Regions from separate parts of the Homo sapiens genome. Here region 1 is linked to region 2. The links are contacts of gene promoters, found by promoter capture Hi-C in human tissues and cell types (Jung and others, 2019). All regions are on one chromosome and are shown on one strand. The core of a region is centred on a gene start or on the middle of the fragment in contact, and the rest is flanking DNA. Distances in the headings are between cores, read along the strand shown.

Region 1 (5,212 bases), core at 2,227-4,726, 540 kb before region 2:
CTCAGAGCCTCCATGGGTCCCACCCCTGTACCCATCACATGGTGTCTGGGCCCTGCCTGCCTGGCTCACACCCCTCACCCTGCTGCCCTATTTCCATCCCTGAAACAGTCCACTGGACACTGCCATTCCCTCTCTTAAAATACTTTCACAGGCCCTGACCGTCCCTTGGTCAATCTAGTGAATGTCACCCCCTCAAAGAAACCCTCCCTGAGCACCCCATCCGCAGTAGGGTCACCCCCATCTTCCACCTTCACTTTTCCTGGTGTCTCCTTCCTAGCCCCTATCTCTATGGGAGTTTTCTTCAGATAGACTAGACTCCCTCGCCCACCCGGGGGGGCCAGCGGGTCTGTCTTCTCTGTCCCTGCACACCAGAGATGATCAATGATCAGTTGCTGACATCAATGAAACAGGAAGGCCCCAGAGGTGCTGGGAGCCGTTCACTGCAGGTGAGAAGGAACCTTGAGGAAGTGGAGAGGACCCGAGTTAGTGTCCTCTCCCCACCCGAAGGGTCAGCTCCTGGCAGCTCTGCGACTCTGTGGCTTGGGGCGCCTCTCCCCTGTGCCCTTGACGGGTGGCCTGCAGGGGACGCGGCCGCACTCGGTCGGCTGTGGTCCTGCAGCAGCCGCGTCCGGGCGAGCGGCACTTAGGAAAGACAAACTCCAAAACCCAGGGCTCCAAAGGACCCATGGGAAGGTCGGGAGGCTCAGGAGAGTGACCCCGCGTCTGGGCCAGCGCTTTGAGGACCCTGTGGACCCAGCGGAGAGGGCCCGGGTGAGGGCTCTGGAGGCGCTGAGCAGGGCCGGGAGCCACGGGACCCGCAGAGGGCGCCCGTCCGCGTGGGGGCAGCAGCGTCTGGAGGGAGGTGGCCCCGGCCGCCCTCAGAAATCAGGCTCAGCCCGGGGGTCCCTGGCTCCGCCTCCCAGGCCGGGCTCTCTTTGCCCAGGCTGGGCGGGGCTGATGGCCGTTGGAAGCCCCGCCCCCCGCCGCTCACCACCTTGTGGCCCCGCTTCCGTCTCCATGGAGACCCGATGCAGCTGGACAGCCTGTCAGCGGCTGCTCTGGAGCCTGGGGCCTGCTCCGTGCGCCCTGTCTGCCCTCCGCGGGCCGTGCTGTCCAGGCTGGCCCGACAGCCTGACTCGAGACACCGGGATGCCTGTCCACGCCTCCACTCCCGGGCCACTTCCCCGTGGGGCGGGCAGTGGGGCAGGGCGGGGTGGGAATCTGCTGCAACCAGGGAAGGGAATTGCCCCCCGGGCACAGAGAGTTTGGAGCCTGGGGTACTGTCACCAACAGCCCAGGACCCCGCAGCTGGGCCCTCCCCTAGAGTCTTCCTGCAGCAGGGCTCTCCTCCCGAAGGGCTGTGAATGTTCCTCGGAGGTGGGGCTAAGCTAGAGCCCAGAGGTTTGCCCTGGGCACGGATCCCCCAGGTCACTCGCCTCCCATGGGCTGCAGTGAAGGAGGCTTTGAAGGGAGGATGGCCGCCTCCTCCCCTGCAAGGATATGAGCCCCAGGGAAGGCATTCCTGCTCTGGGGATTGCCTCCCTCCCAGACATCACAGCCAGCCCTTGCAGAAGCTTGGCCAAGCTGACCACTCTGTCAGTGATCTCTGCAAGGGAAGCTGAAAGAACATCCAGCCCCAATTGTGTTCCCTTTCTGCCTCAGGCTAGGCCATATCTAGGCCTATCAGGGAAGTTGGTCTCTTCATGAGCCCCCCTGCACAGACGTCTAAATGTCCAGAGTCCCAACAGAATAACAAAGGGTTAAAAACCATCTCCATATTGAAGCAGGCCGAGCTGAAGGCTGACTTCTAGGGTGCCCTAGAATGGTGGAAGCTGCACACACCTGACACCACCTAGCAGAGTTGGCTTCCAGAGGAACCTTTCGGTGGGTACCCACTGACCACAGGATGCAGGCCTTCAAGATGTGCCTTCAAGACCTCTGTTCCTGATGTGCCGTCAGGACCTGCGCCATGGGCACCTGCTGGCCTCCCCATTGCTGGAATCCATTTGTGCAGCCCCTGTGGTGATGTGCACACTGGGACTGGTGTTCCCAACTTGCCTGATCATAAAACCACTGGGGACCCGTTCCGTGGAACCAATACTCTCCACACCTCAGGGGCCTTTCTTGTCCGTGCATCTGTACCTCTGTTACCTCTGTCTGGGATGCTTTTCCACTCAAATTTTGTCCCAAGAAAACCCCTTCTGCAACAAGAAAAGCAAATCAAAAGCCAACGGCATTTATTATATCTTTCCCAGGGGCCATAGGCTTGCAGGCCTACCTGGCCAGGCAGATGATCCAAATCTGCCTGAGAGGCATGAGGTGAGGAGCTGGTGCTGGAGGGTATGGTGGCCCTGCCAGGGAGCATCTGTGGTTCCAGCGGCTGCAGCAAGCAGAATGGAGGCCTGGGGCTGCAAGACGTTTTGAAGAGACACAGGAATCAGCATTTTTGTACATGATCTTGGGTGTGTGTGTGTGTGTGTGTGTGTGTGTGTGTGTGTGTTAAACACTGGAGTCATAAAACTTCAGATTAAAAGAAAAACTGCAGAACATAAAACAAAACCCACCTGCAGCTCAGGGCTGGCCTGCAGGCCGCCTGTGACTGGTGCAATTTCCCACCTGTGCTGCCCGTGACCATGGTAAGTCTCCACTGCACACCCCACGGACACAGTCTCAGTCTGTGGCTGCAGCCCCGAGTGTCACAGAGGTCCCTCCCCATTGCCAGGGCTGTCTGACCCTGAGTCTGTGAGCTCCTGTGGGACAGGCGTCAGCTTCTTGACCTGGTTTTCCTTCATAACTGCTCTCTGAGGGTAGTGGCTGGCCAGAGATCCTTTGCCGAATGGATCCTGGAATCCAGCCCTGGTCCCTAGGCCTCTCCCCACTAGAGCTACTTGTCATTGGCAGGCTGGCCACCAGGCCATGCTCTTCTTCCCTTGACTTTCTGTCCCAGGCCTGGAAGGAAGCATCCAGAAGACTCCTCCTAGCACCACAGGACCCAGAGAGCAAGACAACAGAGCAGCAGGGTCACACCCTGGCTTGCAGGGCCAGCTTCTGGCAACTGCCACAGGCCTGCCACACTCAGCCGTAGGTTCCCAAACGCAGCCCAGAACAGCTGCAACTCCTTCTTGGGCCTCCTCTGACTGGTCTATGTGCTAACTAGCAACCTGCCTCTGTCCACAACCCAGGACCCCATGTAGACACAGCAGCTCAGAGGTCTCACTGTTCCTGGGAGCCCCTGCCTCCTCCAGACCTCAGCCCTGCCTGCCTCCAGAGGGGACAGTAGAATTACAACTTCCTCCAGGAAACATATTCACAAACATACTAGAAGGGCCAGGTGGAAGAGCAGTTCTGCTGGCTTTGGGCCTTGAGGTGTTGCGGGATTTTTAAGGAATCAGAGAGACCAATGGGGCTCAGGAGGATATTTATTAATTACTTAGGTGCACCGGCCCAGTCGGATTAACATCCAAAGGACTGAGCCCCAAACGAAGAGTTAACTTTTAAGCATTTTGTGGGTTGGGGGAGATTTGTGCAGGGGAAATACTACAGAAGTGAGAAACAAAGACAGTTATTCAATTGAAACATGCATTACATGATTTCTTACTTTTCTAGGAAAACGTGTTTTGCAACTTGAGTTTATCTGTCTAGTGACCTTGCAGCTGCACAGCTAGGGAAACAGGGTCTTCACAATGCCTGGGAAAGGAGGAGAGATAAGGCTCAACAGCCACAGAAAAACAGGCAGTTAATTTTAAAGGACTCCAGCTCTTTCTCTTTCTCAGAGGGAATTAGGTTTTCTTACATACAACTGAGTTTCTGCTTACACATTCTTTAATTTCTTTTAATTCCTGTTCCAGATGAAGAAAGAAGGGATTTCTTTTCCCACACAGAAACACCCCAAGCAGGAACAGAAACAGATCTTTTGTGCCCACCAATATGTGTCTGTCTTGCCCAGCCTGTCATTGTCCAGGGCTGTGGGTAGTGGAGGAGCCACTGGTTCTTGACTAGTTCTGCAGAAGCCCTGGGTCAAAGGCCTCCGCTGACAGCATCCAGAAGTGTGTGCTTCTCCATCCTGGCCACACTCTCAAATCACTGGGTAAGCCTTCAACACACCAGTGGTTCTCTCAGTCCAAGGAAATCCATGGTGCTGAAGATGGGGCCTAGGCATGAAGTTTTCTTAAAGCTCCAGCTCTCTAGTGAGTTTCCTGCCTTGGCACTCCCGGAGGCATTGCCTGGGCAACTCAGGGGCCTGCAGCCCTACCCAAGGCAGAGCTCCAGGGACTTGCGGGGTCAAAGGTGCCTGGGCAAGCTTCCCAGCATCCCAGTTTCCACACTGGCCACAGGGGTGAGAGCGACTGAGGTTGTGAAGAAAGGAAGGCCACTGACTTTCCAGGCCCTGCTCCACTGGGGAGGGGGGTGCCTGGGGGGCTTCTCTGCACTCTTTGTCTACAGCTTCCTTCAGCAGCAAAGCTGGCTGGAGTTGCCAGGGGATGCTTGCACAGCCTTACGGACCAAGAAATGAGTCCTAACTCACGTGTCCTCCCATACTGAGTAAAAATCTCTGGCCCCCACCATGATTCAGAGCCTGAAGTTCCAGAAACTCAGGAGGCTCAGCACCAGAACTCAGGAGCTCTCAGCCTGGGTGGACCCCTGGGTTTCTTTTCTTTTTTTTTTTTTTCTTTTGAGACAGAGTCTTGCTTTGTCACCCACCCAAGCTGGGCTGCAGTGGCGTGATCTCAGCTCACTGCAACCTCCGTCTCCCGGGTTCAAGTGATTCTCCTGCCTCAGCCTCCTAAGTAGGTGGGATTGCAGGTGTGTGCCACCACACCTGGGTAATATTTGTATTTTTAGTAGAGACAGGGTTTTGTCATGCTGGCCAGGCTGGTCTCGAACTCCTGACCTCAGGTGATCCACCCGCCTCAGCCTCCCAAAGTGCTGAGATTACAGGCGTGAGCCACCGCACCCGGCATGGAGCCCTGGGTTTCTATCCTTTTGCCCCCTATGCTGGGTGAGCCCCCAAGGCCAGTGCAGCCACTGGGAGGGCTGACAGCAAAAGGGCCACCAGTTTGGGGCTCAGAGACACATGGGAAGGGTGCAGATGCAGAGGCAGCTGGGGTTTTTGTGAGGCAAAGCCTCATTTTCAAGTTCATGGGCTTTAGGCACTCATTGATTTTTTACTTTTTTTCCCTCAGCAGTTTCCTATTTTTTATTAATTAAAAAA
Region 2 (5,604 bases), core at 1,663-4,162:
AATTCAATGGATGTGCAAATGTTCCCACAGGGTCTGGCAGAATTCTCATTTTCTTTTTCGTCTGAGAGACTTAACAATGAACTTTCTGGATGAAGAGGTAATGTTCCTCCCAGGTTTAGAGGACTGTGGATATATGTCTATAGGCCAGCTCTTAAAATCTCCAGAGCAGATTCTTCAAAACTGCAGCAATAGACGACTACACTAGGAACAGCAATACTAAAAATAAAGAAAATATTCTCAATGCTTGATTGACAGAATGTCTTCCTGTCAAGTTAAGGGGGAATCACAATTTCCAAACACCTCTGAGAAGACACTTTGAATAGCAGTCACACATCTGCAGTCACACATCTGCAATACAAACTACAGATCAACGCCAAACACGTTATAAGGTACTTAGCACTTCTCTGATGCATCAGAGATTAAGAATGTTTTTTCCCTTTTTCCTACCAAGTAAATTAAAATCCACCAACACCCTTCAGCTCCTCTCAGAAAAGAAAATGATGTTGGGGGGGAAAAAAGTGTTGTTAGTTTAGAAAAAGAAAAAAGTACAGCTATAGAATCTCAGAGAAAGTAACACACAAATATATCCAAAGGGATTCACTTGAAGCCAGCTGTTTTTAATAACCAGTTTCCTCTTTCTTGCCCACATACTGAGAGGACAGACAGCTTCAACAAGAGAATGAGCATGTATCCCCGCCACAGTATTGACTAACAGCTGATTTTCCCACACAAGACTAGGCCTTAGACTGGGATACAGAAAACCTAATGCCCAAGTTCAGCCTCTGGCATCAGGCCAGAAATAGGAGCCTCCAGGTGCATAAAGCACTAAAACCAAAATGCAATGGGCTGACCTAGTACGTCTTGATTTCAGGAAGGAGACCTTCAAAAAAGAAATAGGGCAGGCCGGGTGCAGTGGCTCACGCCTGTAATCCCAGCACTTTGGGAGGCAGAGGCGGCGGGATCACTTGAGGTCAGGAGTTCGAGACCAGCCTGACCAACATAGTGAAACCCCATCTTTACTAAAAATACAAAAATTGGCCAGACAAGCCAGGCATGGTGGCTCACGCCTGTAATCTCAGCATTTTGGGAAGCTGAGGCAGGTGGATCGCTTGAGGAGTTCTCCTTGGTCTTGAGGAGTTCAAGACCAGCCTGGCCAACACAGTGAATCCAGAGTTTGAGACCAGCCTGGCCAACATAGTGAAACCCCGTCTCTACTAAAATGCAAAAAACTAGCTGGGTGTTGTGGCGGGCGCCTGTAATCCCAGCTACTCGGGAGGCTGAGGCAGGAGAATCGCTTGAACCGGGGAGGCGGAAGTTGCAGTGGACAGAGATCGCGCCATTGCACTCCAGCCTGGGCAACAAGGGCTGGAGTGCACTCTAAAAACAAACAAACAAACAAACAAAATTAGCCAGGTGGCCTGCACCTGTAATCCCAGCTACGAGGCGGGAGAATCGCTTGAACCCGGGAGGTGGAGGTTGCAGTGAGCCGAAATCGCACCACTGCACGTCAGCATGGACGACAAAGCAAAACTCCGTCTCAAAAAAAAAAAAAAAAAAAAAAAAAGAAAGAAAGAAATAGGGCAAATAGTGCAAGCAACAGAGAAAGCTGGCTGGTCTGAGCTTCGGGCATCACACTTACATACACGCACAGACTAATACTCAAACAGGCTTGACACACACATGTCCAGGCTTACACACATGGCTGTCACGTGGTCACACCCCGTTCTGCCTCAACCTTGACCCAGTCTTGAAACAGAAATAAAGGGAGCAACTACTGAGCATCCTGGGGGTGGGAAGGGCGGAAGCCCATCTTTTCACCCCTAGGACGGCTGGGCTGGGAAGCTAAGGGCGCTCAGTCGTGCCCACGCAGCCTTGCCAGGGGCAGGAGCTCCATTTCCCCTGGTCTGCAAAATGGAAGGGCTGGACTGCACCGCCCTGTCAGTGTCGGTCTCTGGTTTCATGGGTCCCTGTGGTTCCACAGGGTCACACTCCGCATCCGACCCCTTGGAGAACTCCCAACCCGAGAGGGAGGGTGATGGAAATGCCCTGAGCATCAGGACCCGCGCCGAGGCAGCCTGAGGGGAAGCGCCGGCCTGCCTCGTCTCACTTCGCCTCTGTAAAGCGGCCCCTGGGCTTCCCTCCAAAACTCCTTTCCTCCAGGGTCTCCGTTCCTCCCCGCGACGCTAGGCGCTGCGCTTCGTTTCACAGACTCACTTCCCACGCCAGGGCGAGGGCGGTCACAGACAAACCCGAGCTGGGGTCCCAGACTCAAGGGAAGTGCGGCCCAGCTGCCCCGGCGCCCCCTCCCGGGTCAGGCCGGCTCGGGCCCGGCCGGCTTGGGCCCTGCGGTCCCAGACGCCGCTCCCCAGGCCACCCCTCCTCCCGCACAACCCAGAACACGCGGGTCACGGCCGCCAGGCTGCGCCCGCTCTGCTCGCGCCTCAGCGGCGCGGAGGCCCGGACGGCGCCATGACATGAGCAGTGGTGGCGACCCACGCGCACCCGCCGCTCCGAGTGCTGCAGCCTAGCGCCCAGCGAGAGCGCGCCGCGCACCTGCCGGCTCTGCCGGCCTCCCGGCGCCCGCCCAGCCTCTCAGCGCGAAGGCCCAGCCCGGCCCACGGCGCCCGCCCGGCCCGGCCGCGCGCCTCACCAGCGGTAGCAGCCCTCCGAGGCCTCCAGCGTGAAGTTAACGCGCGTGGCCCGCGTGAAGGGCAGCAGCACTTTGGGGATGTTGAGCTTGGCCGCAGCGGCGGAGGGGCCCGCCGCCAACAGCACCGACAGCGTCAGCAGCAGCAGCCCCCGGCCCCGCGCCGCCATCCTCGCCGCGCGTCACCTCCCGCGACCCTGCGCCCGGCCGCCCGCGCCGCCCCGTTGCCCTCCGCTCCCGCCCGCGCGCGCGCCAGGCCAGCAGGTGATGAGCGCGGGGGCGGGGCGAGGGCCGTCGGCGGCCGCCGCTTCCTGGGCCTGAGCGCGGGAACTCTGGGGGCCGAGCTCGCGGCGACCCCACCCCCAGCCCGGCCCTCGCGCAGGGACGCGGGGCTGGGGGATGGGCGCGCGCCCGGGCCCCCGGAGCTGAGGGAGAAGGCTTGGGGCGCGCCCGCGGGGACCCCTGGACCCTAGAAGTCCCAAGGGGGAGCCCCCGGGGCGCCCCGCAGCACGCATCCCGCCCTGGTATTTGCCCCTGGCGGTGGAGCCAAGCCGCCGGCTTTGGACCTTGCGCTCTGGCCCGGACCCACGGTCAGCAAGGAAGGGACACATGCCCCAGGACATTTGGGATGCAGAAAACCGGCGCCTGCCTTGTCCCAGCCCATGCTTCCCAGAAGAGGGACCCCGGGCTCGCAAAGGGAAGCCACCTGCTGAAGCGCTGAAGGCCCGGGGCCCGCTCCCCCTCGACCCCCTCACACCCTTTCCAGAGAGGCCTTAAGATTCCCATTTCTCCAGGAAAAAACCGGTTGAATGGCCCCCAGATCACTCAGCCAGAGAGCCCCAAGCTCTTGTCCTCCGCACTGCACCCCCTGCGGAAGCCATTAGAGGTTACCTATAGGTCATTTAGGGCGCCAACGCTGCCAGAGCACAACCCCCTCCACGGCCCCCACACCCACAAAAGAAAGTTTAGCACCGCGGAATCCACCTGCACACCAATGGAAGGCCTTAGATTCCGCGCTGTGCTCTGTGGCTTTTAGCTGTCTGTCGTGAATTGCATGAAGGCATGCGTCAGCAGGCACCTGACTGCTTGGTGCCGCTAAAATATGAATCTAGCCTTGCAGAGAAGGCCCAGCCTAGCGGGAGGTCAGGAAAGGGTGGGGTGAGGGTGCACTGGCCGGCTGTCTGAGGAGTGCAGGAAGTGGATGCTGACTGTAACCAGGAAGACACACAACGATGCCACTGGGTGACCAGGAAGGAGAGGATAAATGTCAGTAAGGCTAGGAAGGCTTTTTGGAGGCGGCGGCCCCTGGGTTGGGCATAGACACCGCACTGGGCTTCAGCGAGGCCCGCATAGGCTGAGCCTGCCCCTCAGGGATCATGGGGCTTTTGGATGGTGATGCGGGGTGTTTGGGGTCACCCTCGAAGCCTGAGGGCCCTAGACCAGGGAATGTGTGTGTTGGGGGAAATCTCTGGAGATAACCAGAACTAAGGGGGTGAGGGTCGGCCCTGTGTGGAACCAGGTGCTCTGGGAGGGGAATTCCAACGGGCTCCCTTTGAAGAAACAAAAAACAGACTTGCGCGGAAAAGGCAGCCTCAGAGGGTATTTGTGAGGAAGTCTGTGGGTGTCTTCTGGGTTGCACAAGATTGATTTGTTTTCCAACAGGTAATCCAGACAGATGGTTGAAACTTAGGCTCAAAAGGGTTCCAAGTGAAAGTGATTCCTCTCCCTCCCCATCACCCAATACCCTTCCCTACAGGCAATGAGTGTTTCCCACTTGAGTATACATCCAGAGAAATTTTATGCATAAACAAGCATATATATATATAAAACATGGCACACATGCACACACATACACATACATGCACACACATATGTATATATGAAATATGGCACATATACATACATATACATATGTCTTGCGAGGCAGGTAAATCTCACTCTTGGACATATATCCTAGAGAAATGAAAAGTGATGTTCCCACAATCACCTGTACATAAAACATTCATAGCAGCTTTATCAAATAGGCCCAAACTGGAAACAGCACAGAGGTCCTTCATGGGTGATGATTAAATACTGTGGCACATCTATGCCATGGAATATTATTCAGCAAAAAAAGAAATGAACTGCTAATACATCCATCTTGGATGAAGCTCCAGGGAATTATACGGACTGGAAAACAAACACTACAAAAGCACAAAAGGTTACATACTGTAAACTTGCTTTTATACAAGATTATTGAGTTGGCAAAATTATAGAAGTATAGAGCAGGTGAGTGATTGTGGGGTCAGGGGCGGCGTGGCATAGGAAGTGATGTGGCTATAAAAGGTCAACATGAGGAGTCCCTGGGATGGAAGTGCTTGGTGGCTTGACTGTATCAATGTCCATTTCCTGGTTGTGATATTATCCCATAGTTTTGCAAGATGTCTACTAGTGGAAACGGGGTAAAGGGCACATATTATAGCATCTCTCTTGTTATTTGTTACAACTGCATGTAATCTACAATTATCTCAAAAAAAGAATCATACAAACAGGCCCAGCAAAACACATCTGAGTGGACACAGCTTGCTAAACAACTACGTTTCAGGTGATTTAAGGCAATCAGGAAATTTTCCCAGCAGAAAACAATCCATGGAAGACAACAAAATGGGCCGGGTGCGGTGGCTGTCACCTGTAATCCCAGCACTTTGGGAGGCCAAGGTGGGCAGATCACCTGAGGTCAGGAGTTTGAGACCAGCCTGGCCAACATGGCAAAACCCTATCTCTACTAAAAATACAAAAAGTCGCCAGACATGGTGGCATGCATCTGTAATCCCAGCTACTGGGGAGGCTGAGGCAGGAGAATCACTTGAACCTGGGAGGTGGAGGTTGCAGTGAGCTGGGATCAAGCCACTGCACTACAGCATGTGCAACAAGAAACTCCATCTCAAAAAAAAAAAGGCAACAAAATGATGGGTAAA

What was found. The method cuts DNA at HindIII sites, captures the fragments that hold promoters and counts their contacts. A contact is called where the count stands out against the background at its distance.
Region 1: a contact is called between a fragment that was not itself captured here and the fragment with the promoter of NUP210 in region 2, in 1 of the 25 tissues and cell types used here (spleen).

What each region holds. Positions count from the first base shown.
Region 1 is chr3:12,875,307-12,880,518 of GRCh38, forward strand. LINC02022 (long intergenic non-protein coding RNA 2022) reads right to left here. Exons shown (of 3, transcript NR_136189.1): 2 at 3,599-3,687; 3 at 2,216-2,408. It overlaps LOC105376956 (a long non-coding RNA gene), which reads left to right and starts at 2,993. Exons shown (of 5, transcript XR_940601.4): 1 at 2,993-3,081; 2 at 3,849-4,087. RefSeq lists a silencer at 725-964 and enhancers at 858-1,371, 1,372-1,884. The HindIII fragment of the contact is 6,664 bases long and covers 145-5,212 here.
Region 2 is chr3:13,417,410-13,423,013 of GRCh38, forward strand. It overlaps NUP210 (nucleoporin 210), which reads right to left and starts at 2,913. Exons shown (of 40, transcript NM_024923.4): 1 at 2,651-2,913. The coding sequence starts at 2,817. RefSeq lists silencers at 2,128-2,697, 2,748-3,147. The HindIII fragment of the contact is 28,440 bases long and covers 1-5,604 here.